3 separate regions of the Homo sapiens genome follow, and regions 1 and 2 are each linked to region 3. The links are contacts of gene promoters, found by promoter capture Hi-C in blood cells and fetal thymus (Javierre and others, 2016). All regions are on one chromosome and are shown on one strand. Each heading gives the region's core, a stretch centred on a gene start or on the middle of the fragment in contact. The rest is flanking DNA. Distances are from core to core; before and after follow the strand shown.

Region 1 (4,523 bases), core at 940-3,439, 240 kb after region 3:
GTGGAAATTATTATATGAACTTTGAATAACCAGGTAAACTTCTGCTTCTCTTTAGAATGTATGTTAATTTTCCAATTTTCTATTAGATTATTAAGTAATTTTTAATGTTCATCTCTAGTAATATTGTCCTTGTGAAAAGAAACTCCTTTTCCCAGTGTATTGGGCTGCTATAATGTGGCCCTCGAAGTTTGTTGTAGTAAAATAAGTGGTTTATATAAGTACCGAATAACTAAATAACACACACAGGTTTCCCTTTTATCTGCTTATCTTGTATTTTGGCGTACCAAAACGTTTTTCTCCTAAATATACAACTGTGCATGATAGTGGGCACCATGCAGGGTGAACAGTAATGCTGTTTGTCTGCATAGGACATTTTGGCTTTAGGAGATCTGCCTCCTTTTATTTATTTCATTGCCTGTCATGTCTCGCTTTGTTGCGTTTTGTTTTTGCTTTTGTTTTTGTTTTTTTTTAAGACGGAGTTTCACTCTTGTTGCCCAGGCTGGAGTGCAATGGCGCAACCTCGGCTCACCGCAACCTCTGCCTCCCGAGTTTGAGCGATTCTCCTGCCTCAGCCTCCCAAGTAGCTGGGATTACAGGCATGTGCCACCACACATGGCTAATTTTGTATTTTTAGTAGAGACGGGTTTTCTCCATGTTGGTCAGGCTGGTCTTGAACTTCTGACCTCAGGTGATCAGCCACCTCGTCCTGTTGGCGTTTTTTAACATTTTATTCATCCTAAAGCCCTCTAGTGTACAACTTTGGCTTTTTATCAAGGCATCCAGAAGCTTGCTTCTGCACAGTTCAGCTAAGTAATTCTAAACCAAAAAAGAGTAATTTTTAAAAATTATTATTTAGGCCGGGCGCGGCGGCTCAAGCCTATAATGCCAGCACGTTGGGAGGCTGAGGCAGGCGGATCACCTGAGGTCGGGAGCTCGAGACCAGCCTGACCAACACGGAGAAACCCCATCTCTACTAAAAATACAAAATTAGATGGGTGTGGTGGTACCTGCCTGTAATCCCAGCTACTCAGGAGGCCAAGGCAGGAGAATCCCTTGAACCTGGGAGGCGGAGGTCGCGGTGAAGCGAGATCACGCTGTCGCACTCCAGCTGGGCACCAAGAGCGAAACTCCGTCTCAAAAAAAAAAAAATTATTTAGACGCCCATTAGATCCGCAAAAACTAATTTTAAACAAAAGTGATTAGTTTCCCACATCTGGGGGATATGATCAATTAGAAAATGGCATGAGGAAGATAGCTTTGCCCAAGCTGGTGTTTCATTTTTGGTTTTTGAGACATTGCTCTATCACGCAGGGTGGAGTGCAGTGGGGCACCATCGTGGCTTTCTGCAGCCTTGACCTCTGGGGCTCAAGAGATCCTCCCACCTCAGCCTCCCGAATGGCTGGGCCCACAGCCACGTGCCACCACACCCAGCCAACGTTTTGATCTTTTGTAGCGACCGTCTCACTGCGTTGTTCAGGCTGCAAGCTGTTGTTTCAAACAGATGAAGTTGGAAAGTTCTTCAGCTTCTCCAGAGTTGTTTTTTTGAATCAAGGGGTTGTGGAGCCTACATGTAAATACAAGTGTGCCTTGAGTTAAATCTCCGGGAAGACTTAGAACGGCCGTGTTGCCAGAGCTCTCCTAGTTAGCCTGCAGGACTGTCTGAAGTCCGTGTCCGTCTGACATGTTACCGGAATTAACAAACCTAGGGACGGTGAGTGCTCCTTCATGTGGCTTTCTGGCTCTCTCACCTGCCACTCAGTGCCGCTGTGACTTAGCAGCCAGAGTTTTCAGGAGACCTCCAACGTGTCCGTTGAAATTCAGGGTAAGAGTTGAGAAGTTTCCCTGTTTGTTCTAAGAGTTCTTACCCCAACCTCAGGGGAAATCAATAGTAAATTTACTCTGACTTCAATGATAATAAAGAAGTGCCCTTGCCTCATCCTCTTTATATAAAGCAATAGAGCCACATGGTTCAAAAATGAAAACAATATGAAAAGGTATTGTAAACCGGGTAAGTGTCTGAGACAAGTCTCGCCCATTTAGAGGTTTATTTTGCCAAGGCTGAGGATGTGCCTGAGACACAACCACAGATCTGTGGCCCCCGCACACTTTCCAGAGAGGATTTTTAGGGCCTCAGTATGTGGGATATGACGACGTTTCTCTTCAAATAATCTGATCAATCTTTTATTCTTTAATTCATAGCGCCCCGCCCCCTTTTTCTCCTTTTCCCTTTTTGCCTTTGTGAGATGCCCAGGCACGCCACAGCACCAGGCGTTATCAGTACCAGCTCACATTCCTTTCCTTATTTGGAAAGAGGACTAACTTTCTAGCTCATTACAGACACCCCTTCCCCTTCCTCTCCGCTTTCTTTTACGGGCCCACCCTATCTAAAAAAATCAAATGTTTAGCCAAGCGCGATTAGTTTAGATTGTACGACCTGACCCCGGCCAATGGGGAAAGGGTAGAGGGGCAGGACTTGTGTCAGGAACAAAGGCTCTCGTGCCCCTTTGTTCAGGTGTGCTCTCATGACAACTGGCCAAGGAGGCACCCCTCTGCACAGAAGTAAAATTGCTTTGCTAAGAATCCTTTGTTCGAGTGTTCTATTTCCTTAGGATTTTGAGCATTATTCCTAACAAGTATTTAAAAGGGAAAGAGCAGGAAGGGAGGGAAGAGGGAAAGGAAAAATACAGGAGGGTAGGTAGGGAGATAAGTGGTTACATTCTTATTAGGCTTTGATCAGCGCTCACCAAATCTACATGTCACAGTGAAAGGAGGGGGTAGAGGAACAGTCAGTTTTGCATTCAGCTCAGTAAATCTACATTTAGCACTCACCAAATCTACATGTTACAGTGAAAGGAGCAGGCAGAGGAACAGTCAGTTTTGCATTCAGCTCAGTAAATCTACATTTAGTGCTCACCAAATCTACATGTTACAGTGAAAGGAGCGGGCAGAGGAACAGTTACGCATTCAGCTCAGTAAGTCTACATTTAGCACTCACCAAATCTACATGTTACAGTGAAAGGAGCAGGCAGAGGAACAGTCAGTTTTGCATTCAGCTCAGTAAATCTACATTTAGCGCTCACCAACTCTACATGTTACAGTGAAAGGAGCGGGCAGAGGAACACTCAGTTATGCATTCAGCTCAGTAAATCTACATTTAGTGCTCACCAAATCTACATGTTACAGTGAAAGGAGCGGGCAGACGAACAGTCAGTTATGCATTCAGCTCAGTAAATCTACATTTAGCGCTCACCAAATCTACATGTTACAGTGAAAGGAGCGGGCAGAGGAACAGTTATGCATTCAGCTCAGTAAATCTACATTTACTGCTCACCAAATCTATATGTTACAGTGAAAGCAGCAGGCAGAGGAACAGTTATGCATTCAGCTCAGTACATCTATGTTTTGTCTCGGCTGGTGAGGGATGGTTTCTGGTGTTGTCTTTGTCCCTTACCTATGAAGATAAGCTGTTAATTTATATTGTCAGGTGAGGGAGACCACCTGGGGAGATATGTGGCCTTCTGTCTTGTAGCTTATCTGTTTAGGAACAAAAGGAAGTTTTTTGCATATTCCATGACTCAATTTCCAAGCTTAACTTTTCCTTTTCGCTTAGTGAATTTGGTCCCAAGATTTTATTTTCCTTTCACAGTATACCCCATGCCCATCAATCCCATTCCCCCTGCATCCTATAGGTAACCTCTTCTTAAGCAAATACAAATAGATAAATCCTTATTTTCTGTTTTTTTTTTTAAAACTTTATTTTACTGTTACTTTCTGCTGTCCTAATTATGGCACATTTTTACTTTCTAGGTTCTGTGATTTACAGAGTGGTCTGGCTATGTGGACAGCTTCTAAATTGTCACCACATTTTGGAGCAAGATGTATTATTTTTACAATTAATTTACATTTAACATGAATCATGATCCTAAGTGCATCAGAATGTCTTCATAACATTCGCCAAAGAAGAGAGGGCAGCACTGCTGTTCTACAGTGTGGCTCTCACCTGGTCCACAGTTACCAGAAATAGTTCTTTCGTTGCTGTGATGTCCTGGGTGGGCTTCATTCTTTAGTAATGTACTTTGTCTACAGCAACTTCCTGCAACTATGTGAACAGATCTTGAAGACACACAGTGAGGTTTGGTTTCCTTTGTCCTCTTAAGTCTTTATGGTTGTTGCTTCTATTGTTTATTGGTCCCAGTGAGAACTGCAGCTGACCTGATGTCATGATCTGTGAAGATAGTTTCTATTAAAGAAGAAGTACCAGGAAATCCCATATGCCACCGTAGACCTGCCTTTCTGGATACCATTTACTACTCCATACTCCAGCCGCCATGCACAATGGTTGTGTATGAGGCTCCTGTGATCATTAACAGGAGTAGAAGCTGGGCTCAGACACTCTGGCACTTGCATAGGTCAAGGGGTGTGTTGTGCTCTTGCAACAAATCCCACATAGACATCCATATGCATATTGTCCCACCGTCCCCTAAGCAGAAACCAGGGTTAAGTACAGAATAGTCCCGGGAACA
Region 2 (4,818 bases), core at 137-2,636, 220 kb after region 3:
AAGAAGGCAGTAAATTAGGGAGGCAACTTCAGGAGCGTCGGGAACACATTTCTCTGCACTCTCATACAACACCTGTGGGACACAAAGGGATTCTCCAGCTCTCTAACACCAGCCGGCTGTCCTGTTATTTAATTGATTCTGACTCTACCTGGAGTTAATGTCAGATCCTGCAAGTTAAGGGCTCAGTCCCAGAAGATTTTCCGCCACGTCAGGCGCCGGTCACAGTCTGGATCTTCAGGATTTCCGATGACCAACTACAAGTCAGGGCTCCCGCTCCTGCTTCCTTGGGTTTGATAGTCTGCTACAGTGGCTCATGGAACTAAGGGAAACGCTGGAAACACTTACTTACATTTACTGGTTTATCATAAAGAGTACGAGTCAGAAATGGCTGGACAGAGGAGATACACAGGGCAGGGCATGGGGAGTGGGTGGCAGAGCTTCCATGCTCTTCTGGGCAGGCTCCAATCCAGCACCTCCCTACGTTCAGCATCCCAGAAGCTCATGAGTCTCATTGTTCAAGCCTAATAGAGCCCAGTCTCCATCCCTTTCCTTCCCAGAGGTTGGTGGATGGGACTGAAAGTTCAGTCCTCTAATCATTTGTCTTTCTGGTGACCAGCCCCATCCTGAGTCTATGTAGAGGCCCCACTCTAAGTCACTTCATTAGCATAAACTCAGGTGTGACTGAAAGGGGCTCATTATGAATATAACAAAAGATATTCCTATCAGGAAATTCCAGAGGTTTTGGGAGCTCTGAGACAGGAACCAGGGACAATGACCAGATATGTTTCATATTATGCCACAAATGCAAATAAGTACATGCTCTAGATGAAGCAGCGGCTTTCCAGTATCTTTTTTTTTTTGAGACAGAATCTCACTTTGTCACCCAGGTGGGAGTGCGGGGTCATTATCCTGGCTCACTGCAACCTCTGTCTTCTGAGTTCAAGCAATTCTCCTCCCTCAGCCTCCCTAGTACGTGGGACTATGGGCATGTGCCACCATGCCCAGCTAATTTTTGTATTTTTAGTAGAGACGGGGTTTCACCATGTTGGCCAGGCTGGTCTCGAACTCCTGACCTCAGGTGATCCTCCCGCCTCGGCCTCCCAAAGTGCTGGGATTACAGGCCTGAGCCACCACGCCCGTCCATCTCTTAAGCTTAGTACCGTGACAAGTTGGAACAGTCCAAGGCCTATTAGGAATTTCATGCTTGTTGATTGATAGTCAAGGAAATAACAGGTCAGTTGGAGAACTGTCTTTAGGATTCTGTTCCTTGCTTTACAGAAAAGGTGAACAAATCTTTCCTTCAGGTAGATGCTGGATAGTCTTTGGAGCTTGTAGTAGGGTCCCATGAGCACTGCCCACAGCTGCTTTCTGTACCATCTGAGGTCATCTCATCCTTAAGAGAACTTTTAGGACCAGACAGGAATGCTCATCTCTCTGTGCCCAGTAGTTCTCTGGGGGTGGCCTGAGGCTGACTTGTCTGTAGTCACTGAGTTCATTTACTTTTATTTTCTAGGCCTTATGATGGGAAATGGAGTAAAACAATGGTGGGATTTGGGCCTGAGGATGATCATTTTGTCGCAGAACTGACTTACAATTATGGCGTCGGAGACTACAAGCTTGGCAATGACTTTATGGTAAATACCGTTTTTTTCTAGCAGAGTTTTGGCTGGGGGTAGGTGGCTGGTTGTAAATTTGAGTAGAGTGCCAAGGGTGTGTGTGAGTGAAGAGATAACATTTGAGCAGAGACTCAAAAGAGGTCAGGGAGTTAGCCACGTGGATATCTGGGGGATGCGCGTTCCAGGCAGAGAATATTCTGGCAAGAGCCGTCAGGTAACATCTGGCGTGTTCGAGGAGGTGTAAGGAAGCCAGTGTGGCTGGAATAGAGAACGAGAGGGGAGCGTGGTAAGAGATGGGGTCGGCAGTGCCATGGGGTAAGACTGCAGGGGGCCTCCTAGGCCGTAAGTCACCGAGTGAAATGAGCCATTGGCGGACTTTGAGCAAAGGGAAAACAAGGCTGGCTGCAGTCTGGGGGTGGACTATAGGATGCGTTTTGGAAAGTTTACTTTGGCTGCAGAGTGGGTAATGGATTTACAAGACTGGAGGCAGAGAGGCCATTATAATAAACCGAGCCAGAAACAAGGCTGGTCTTCTCAAAGCACACGTGTACATTTCTAGGCACTTTGATTAAATGTAAGGAAACCTTGATAGTTTGCTTATTTTTGTTTTGTTTGTTAAAAAAGCAAGAACAGGTCACCTTAAATAGGTAGCTAGCTGGCAGACCCAGGTAACATCAAGATTTCTGTGGCTAGATCTTTAGAATTAGAAGACGTTATCTTTGGTGTTAAATGAATCAGACTTCACTGGCATTTCAATTTCTGTCCTATTATTCACAAAGGTCTGAATGTTTGTGGGATAAAACATTGAAAACCTGTTTTTAAATCACTAGAAGAAAATGTTGGATGCCAGTTAAATCTTAGGTGATTTTACCTAAAGGCAGTAGGCAATAGGGGTTGGGCTCATTGTCTTGTTCTGTAAAATATCTGTTGTGATCATGTACTTGGATGTACTGTTGTTTGTTGTAGGGAATCACGCTCGCTTCTAGCCAGGCTGTCAGCAACGCCAGGAAGCTGGAGTGGCCACTGACGGAAGTTGCAGAAGGTGTTTTTGAAACCGAGGCCCCGGGAGGATATAAGTTCTATTTGCAGAATCGCAGTCTGCCTCAGTCAGGTAATTATACCAGAACCAGTAAAAGCCTCTGTCTAAAGGCATCTTTGGTGAAAGGAGAGTGAGGGCTGCCTGTCTTTTTTTTGTAGAGTCTGTGTTCACGTGACGTGTCTTCCCCAGCCAGTGCTTTTACCTGTTATCGGAGAGACTACATTCTCATATCAGAACTTAAATACATAGCAGTAGGGGATCTAGACTAGTTCTGTTCTACTGGTAATGTAGTGATTTATGATTCTTTCATCTGTAAATAACAGAAAACCCAACTACTTTGAACAGTTATAGAATCTTTTAGCTCACAGAGCAGGCATTCTATAGGTGGGAAAGATTTCAAGGTTAGATGATTCACCAGCTCCCCACATTTTCTCTTTCTACGTTCTGTTGTTCTCTGCGGGTACCTCTCCTAGAACTAGTCCCCTCAAGGTTGCAGGAGAGCTGCCAGGAGCAGGTGGGGCCACATGCTCCCACAATCCCATCTGGTAGGAGAGGAGATGCTGACTTCTTTTTGCTTTTTTTTTTTGAGACTCTGTCAGTCCGGCTGGAGTGTACTGGCATGATCTCTGCTCACTGCAACCTCTGCCTCCCGGGTTCAAGCAATTCTCCTTCCTCAGCCTCCCAAGTAGCTGGGATTATAGGCGCCTGCCACCACGCTCAGCTTTTTTTTTTTTTTTTTTAGTATTTTTATTAACTTTTAAAAATTATTTGTTTTTTGAGACGGAGTCTTGCTCTGTCGCCCAGGCTAGAGTGCAGTGCTGCAATCTCGGCTCACTTGCAACCTCCGCCTCCCAGGTTCAAGTGATTCTCCTGCCTCAGCCTCTCCAGTAGCTGAGATTACAGGCACATGCCACCACGCCCAGCTCATTTTTGTATTTTTAGTAGAGACAGGGTTTCACTATATTGTCCAGGCTGGTCTTGAACTTCTGACCTCACTTGATCCGCCTGCCTCAGCCTCCCAAAGTGCTGGGGTGACAGGCGTGAACCACCGTGCCCGGCCCTTTTTGCTTTCTTTTTAGGAGCAGAAGAAAAACTTTCCTAGAATCTTCCAGCAAACTTCCTGTTCAGATTTGATATACTGTGCCTGCTCCTAAACCAATCACTGGCAAGAGAAATAGGATCACCCCCAAACCATTTAGCCATGCCTCCTCTGGAGCCGAGGTCAGTTTCCCAGACTTGAGCGTGGGTACTCAGGGATGGCATGGAAGTGAGGAGCCCCCACGCTGACTGCCACACAGAACAAGAAGGAAACTTTGCAGGGTTTGTTTTGTTGACTGCAGAGGCAGCCTCATCAGTGTTTCATTTTGTATTTAATGCCTGCAAATTCAGCTACCTGCTCTGACAAAACAAAAGCAAAAACGGGGAAAATGCTGGCGAATGGCAAGGGCACTTGTGCCGACTCCCTTACTTGGTGAACGTATGCCTGCAAGTGGGCCTGAGAAGGGAGTCCTGGAAATTCTCCTTCTTCACTGGTCGGCCTCCTGTCCCCGATGCCCCCATGCTGAGTCTGTAGAATGTTCAGTGCTCCTTGTTTATCATCCGGTGCTCAGCAAAAGAAAGATCCGTCTGTTCCAGTGTGGGAGGCTAGACTTGGCTGTGTGGGACTCGTGGAGAGATGGTGTTTCTCTGCCTCACTGGTGATTTAAAGGGTGTTGATGGTGTTTTTTTGTTGATAGGTGATTGATCCTTTGCTGACTTTAAAACTTAACGCTTGCAGCTAGCTCCACCATCCATTTTTTCTCTCCAGCCTTAGTGATATTTCAGTGCTTAAAATAATAGAGAGCCCCATGGTGCTAAGAAGCTTTTGTTCTTTGGAATGGAAATCCCCTTGGGCATTTCTGGTTGACAATGTGGTCAGACCTTCTGTCCGGCTGGCATTCATCTTTCCTTTGAATTACCCACTTCTGTGCAGCTTCACCCACGCGTTAACTTCCTGTCCTGCGTCCCTTCAGGCTCCAAGTCAACTGGGATTTGTTGATTTTGAAGTAAATGGAAAGAAAAAAATGGAGCCTGCCAGGCGGAGGCACTTGTGAGAAACAGCGTCTTAATCCCAATATTGCTGTTCTAGCAAACAGGACTAAGGCAGTAAAGCCAAAGAAAAAT
Region 3 (4,728 bases), core at 1,115-3,614:
CGTTAGAGCCAAAGAAACAAGCCAAGGCAGACCATTAAGGAGGAATACACAGGGTTGCTCGTTAGCTCATTCAGTCCCTACCCAAAGGAAACCTAATCTTTCTTGAAAATATAGTTCCTAAGTATACAGCGTGTATATATATATATATATATATATATATATATATATAGTATGCGTTCATAGATGCTTCCTGCAGGTGGCACCAGAGTGCTGAAACCAAGCCCAGCATTTGGAATGTAATCAAAATTTCTTCAAGGGGCTCTCCAATAAGTCTCGTTTAAAATCATTAGCTAACTTCTAGCCTACAAAAAGTAAAAAATAATGCAAGCCCATACTGTAAACACACACAAAGTCTGCCACAGGGACTATTTTATGGAAGTTCAACCTAGAATGTATCTGATGCTTCTGATTTGCTTTCTAGTAACAACTTTCAAATGACTTTTAAAGAGCAATTTCTCTTTAAAAGTAATGAAATGGTGGCCCCAGCAAGGATTTCTTAGAAGGCAGAGACACTTACAGATTCTATCAAACACTCAGTACAAGAAAACATGGCTCCCACAATGGCGAAATTTTTGGCATAGGACATTCCTCTCTGCCCCATGTCTTTCAGCACTTCTTTTGCAGTCGGTGTACGGTAAGGATCCTTAGGGTCAAAGCCCACGTTGGTATCGATGCCAGCGGTAAACACCCCAAATGCACCTCCTAAGACAAATCCTAGAAGCAAACACAGAGATGAAGGTGTCTTTGGCATGTTTTCTGCATTACTCTATTGGGATCATCCTGGAAGGGACCATGCTTTTGGATGACCACCGGTGCAGAGGACACCCCCCTCTTGCCACTCAAACTCTCCACTTGCCTGGAGACTTGCAATCCAGGGTCTATGTTACTGACATCATCTTCTCCGTCTCTAAGATTTCTTCCTCCTGTCATTCCCTAACATTTCTCAAGATTCCATCTTTAACCCTCTATTCTCTCTACATTCTCTCATATGTAAACCAGCCACCCTCAACTTCAGCTATCAACTTTGCAAATCACTCTCTTGGCCACTGTGACATTCACAGTAATGCTTTACTGAGCACATGCCAGTATGCCACAGCCTCATTCATTCTTCACAATAATCCAGTGAGACAGATGCTATTAGCCTCTCCTTTCTATAAACTGAGGCTCAGAGAGGTTAAGCAACTTCTCCCAAGGCCACACAGCTACCTAATGGCAAATCCCACACTGCTGCCACATCTGTCCTTCCTGAGCCGGCTGGACATGTCCAGATGGATGCCCTCTCATGACCTCATGGTCAATATGAGTTTAATAAAATCATGGGCACCTCCCCTTCAACTTAAGGGAAAAACAGAAGGACAAGTGCAGACTTCGTCTCTCCTTGCTCGGGGCTGTCTAGTCACAATGGTCTTTCAGTTTTTCAAACCTCAAACAACTGCTGCCCTAGAGTCGTCTGCATGTGCATTTCCATATGTCTGCATCCTTCCTCTGCAGTGTTCCTGCTCAACATTCTTCTCCACATAGTATAATACAGGCCCCATGAAGACCAGGCTCTTGTCTCTTTCACCTGGCACGTGATATTGCTTAGGAACAATTTGTTGAAAGAATTATTTAAGAGAATGAATTTAAGGGAATGAACGGATGAATGAAGTCACCCACGTAATAACTTTTTGTTGTTGTTTTTGAGACGGAGTCTCGCTCTGTCGCCCAGGCTGGAGAGCAGTGGCACATCTCGGCTCACTGCAAGCTCCGCCTCCTGGGTTCAAGCGATTCTCCTGCCTCAACCTCCCGAATAGCTGGGACTACAGGCGCCCACCACCACGTCCAGCTAATTTTTTGTATTTTTAGTAGAGACGGGGTTTCACCGTGTTAGCCAGGATGTCATGTAATAACTTTCAGGCCCCAACCACAGCACCGATTCTCTAACCCAATTTTCATCAGGAAAGCCGGCCTGAGGGGGCAGGAGAGGTGACGCCCGATTCACGAACGAGGCGAGGGTGTGGTCAAGGTCAAGGCCCGCAGTCCCTCGCCTCCCAGGCGCGTGGTCTTCTCGGCAGAGATCCCCACTGCCGTCCAGGCCCTCAGCCTCCCAAGGGTCCCATCGCCCGGCCTCACCTCCCACGCAGGCCAGCGCAGCCTTGAAAGCGCAGCTTTCCATCGCCTTCTCGATCATCTTCTGCTCCTCACTCTTGGCTGGACTTGGGATCCCGCCCAGGCTCCCAGGCTCCAGGAGCCGGGGCTGACGCTTGTCACCCACCAGGTACTGCAGGAGCAGGCTGTACTGCAGCGGAGCTTCGGCGGAACCCGCTGTCTCAGGGGCCGAGCCTCCGGCATTGGGGGCGGCCGCCGCCATGACAGTCGCTGCCCAAGCAACCCTCGCGTCCTTCTCCCCGCAGCAGATTCGACAAGCGTCACGTTGCGGGCCCTGAGACTAGCCACTGTGATGCAACGGCAGATTCGCCGCAGGAGGAAGCCGCGGCCGCAACGCTCCTGGTGCGCACACCAGCGAGACCGCTATCATGTTTCCAAAAAGAAAGCCTCTTGTGAAAATGGAATTGGGCTTGGACAGCTTTCCCCATGTCACAGACAAACGAGATTCAGATTCACCAGAAAGCGCCCTCACGGTCGGGGCTGCAGCGCGGTGAGTACCGGGATTTGTAGTTCTAATCCGACACCCAACTACATTTCCCAGGAAGCGTTGCGCGTGCTCTCGCGCCTCGGCCCCGCGCGGGGCTCTTACGAGCTCCTGAGGGGAGCGAGGAGTGGCCGCGCGCTCCGGGGCTGCCGTGCTCCGGATCGCCGGGAGGGGACGCGCGAGCATTGTCGCTGCCCTTTCCACCTCGTGCTGTCATCGGGCGGTGAGGCGTTAAATCCCGTGGTCCCGGAAGGTGCGGTGAGAGGTGGATGCTTTGTAGATAAGCGTGAACTTGTGCTGTAAATGCACGGACCGGGCGCGGGGGCTCACGCCTGTCATCCAGCACTGTGGGAGGCCGAGGCCGGTGGATCACGAGGTCAGGAGTTCGAGACCAGTCTGACAAACATGGTGAAACCCCATCTCTACTAAAAATTAAAAAAATAAAAAATAAAAAAATTAGCTGGGCATGGTGGTGCACGCCTGTATTCTCAGCTACTTAGGAGGCTGAAGCAGGAAACCCCGTCTCTACTAAAAATATAAAAATTAGCCAGGTGGCGGCAGGCGCCTGTAATCTCAGTTACTCGGGAGGCTGAGACAGGAGAATCTCTTAAACCCGGGAGGTGGAGGTTGCAGTGAGCCAAGATCGCACCATCGCACTCCAGCCTGGGCGACAAGAGCAAGACTCCGTCTCAAAAAAAAAAAAAAAAAAAAAAAAATCCTAACTGACAGCATTTGCTGACTTGTGTGGTGTTAATATCCCCATCATGGCTGATTTCAAACTACCAAGCGAGGTCATCAGTCAGAATTGGGAAGACGTACAGCAGCATGTGGTTACATGGTGTTTCTATCACACAGATACAATCTATGGAAATAACCTCAACAGCATAGATAGGAGTACAGTGTAGTAAAATTTTTAGGAGGGGATGAGTTTTGAGCACATATTACCTATTTTTAGTGTAATTTATTATAAATGTATAGAATGTAATTTTTAATAATAACTGTGCTTAACAACCAGCTCAAAAACTCCTGATAATTTGTTGCCTTACTTTTTAAAATTACTCTTTTGAGACAGAGTCTTGCTCTGTCACCCAGGTTGGAGTGCAGTGGTGCAATCTCCGCTCACTGCAACCTGCACCTCCCGGGTTTGAGCGATTCTCCTGCCTCAGCCTCCCGACTAGCTGGGATTACAGGCACATGCCACCATGCCCGGCTAATTTTTGTATTTTTAGTAGAGACAAGGTTTCACCATGTTGGCCAGGCTGGTCTCAAACTCCTGACCTCAGGTGACCCACCCACCTCGGCCTCCCAAAGTGCTTGGATTCCAGGCGTGAGTCACTGCGCCCGGCCAGTTAGGGCCTTTTTGTTATTGTTGTTAAACATTTACCATTATACCACTGCACTGCAAGCATATTTTGGGAACCAAGAACACTTCCTCCTCTTTGAGGAAACCAGAATTGGGGCCTGGAGGCAGAGAAATTGGGAATGGATTTCTGGTCATATCCAGGAAAATCCTAGGGGATGTTGGAGAGAGGTTTTCAGTCCCAAGAATGCTAACACTTTGGCATCATTTTGTACTCCTCGTATGAACAAAACGTGGCCTGGGAACACCTCTGGGCATTTAAGCACACTTTTTGCTAATGGCCTGAAGGCAGTGCCGTAGCAAGCATCTGCCTACTTGGGCCAGGGACTCTCAGAAGATGTTGATCGGAAAAGATTCCTCTGCTGGGCATGGTGGCTCACACCTGTAATCCCAGCACTTTGGGAGGCTGAGGCAGGAAAATTGCTTGAGTCTGGGAAGTTGAGACTGCAGTGAGTCATGATCGTGCCACTGCACTCCAGCATGGACGAGGGAACGAGACCCTGTCTCAAAAAAAAGAAAAAAAAAAGATTAAGTAAACAGTGGTCATTTTATTCAGAGGGCTGAAAAACAATTTCCATCAAGGGCTGCGAAAGGGCTGGGGTGTTCCATAGCCCAGGAGCCTCACAGGTATGTCTGAGTTGTAAGAGGAAGTGAAGTGTCCTTCTTTTAAGGGTCTTGGCTGGGCGCGGTGGCTCACACCTGTAATCTCAGCACTTTGGGAGGCTGAAGCAAGGTC

The links. Contacts are between HindIII fragments. The CHiCAGO score rates a contact against its expected background, and 5 or more counts as called.
Region 1: a contact is called between a fragment that was not itself captured here and the fragment with the promoter of TIMM22 in region 3, in 6 of 17 cell types (naive CD4 T cells, naive CD8 T cells, non-activated CD4 T cells and 3 more). The highest score is 8.5, in naive CD4 T cells.
Region 2: a fragment that was not itself captured here is called in contact with the fragment with the promoter of TIMM22 in region 3 in 14 of 17 cell types (naive CD4 T cells, naive CD8 T cells, endothelial precursors and 11 more); the score reaches 15.0 in naive CD4 T cells.

Annotation. Positions count from the first base shown.
Region 1 is chr17:754,110-758,632 of GRCh38, reverse strand. It overlaps a transcript of GEMIN4 not described here and the pseudogene DBIL5P. Among named protein-coding and RNA genes, the nearest start is that of GEMIN4, 4.1 kb to the right of the region's middle. The HindIII fragment of the contact is 2,801 bases long and covers 789-3,589 here.
Region 2 is chr17:773,684-778,501 of GRCh38, reverse strand. It overlaps GLOD4 (glyoxalase domain containing 4), which reads left to right. Exons shown (of 9, transcript NM_016080.4): 3 at 1,514-1,634; 4 at 2,583-2,727. Among named protein-coding and RNA genes, the nearest start is that of GLOD4, 6.2 kb to the left of the region's middle. The HindIII fragment of the contact is 464 bases long and covers 1,155-1,618 here.
Region 3 is chr17:994,765-999,492 of GRCh38, reverse strand. It overlaps TIMM22 (translocase of inner mitochondrial membrane 22), which reads right to left and starts at 2,364. Exons shown (of 4, transcript NM_013337.4): 1 at 2,113-2,364; 2 at 518-714. The coding sequence starts at 2,350. RefSeq lists an enhancer at 1,651-2,342. The HindIII fragment of the contact is 11,380 bases long and covers 1-4,728 here.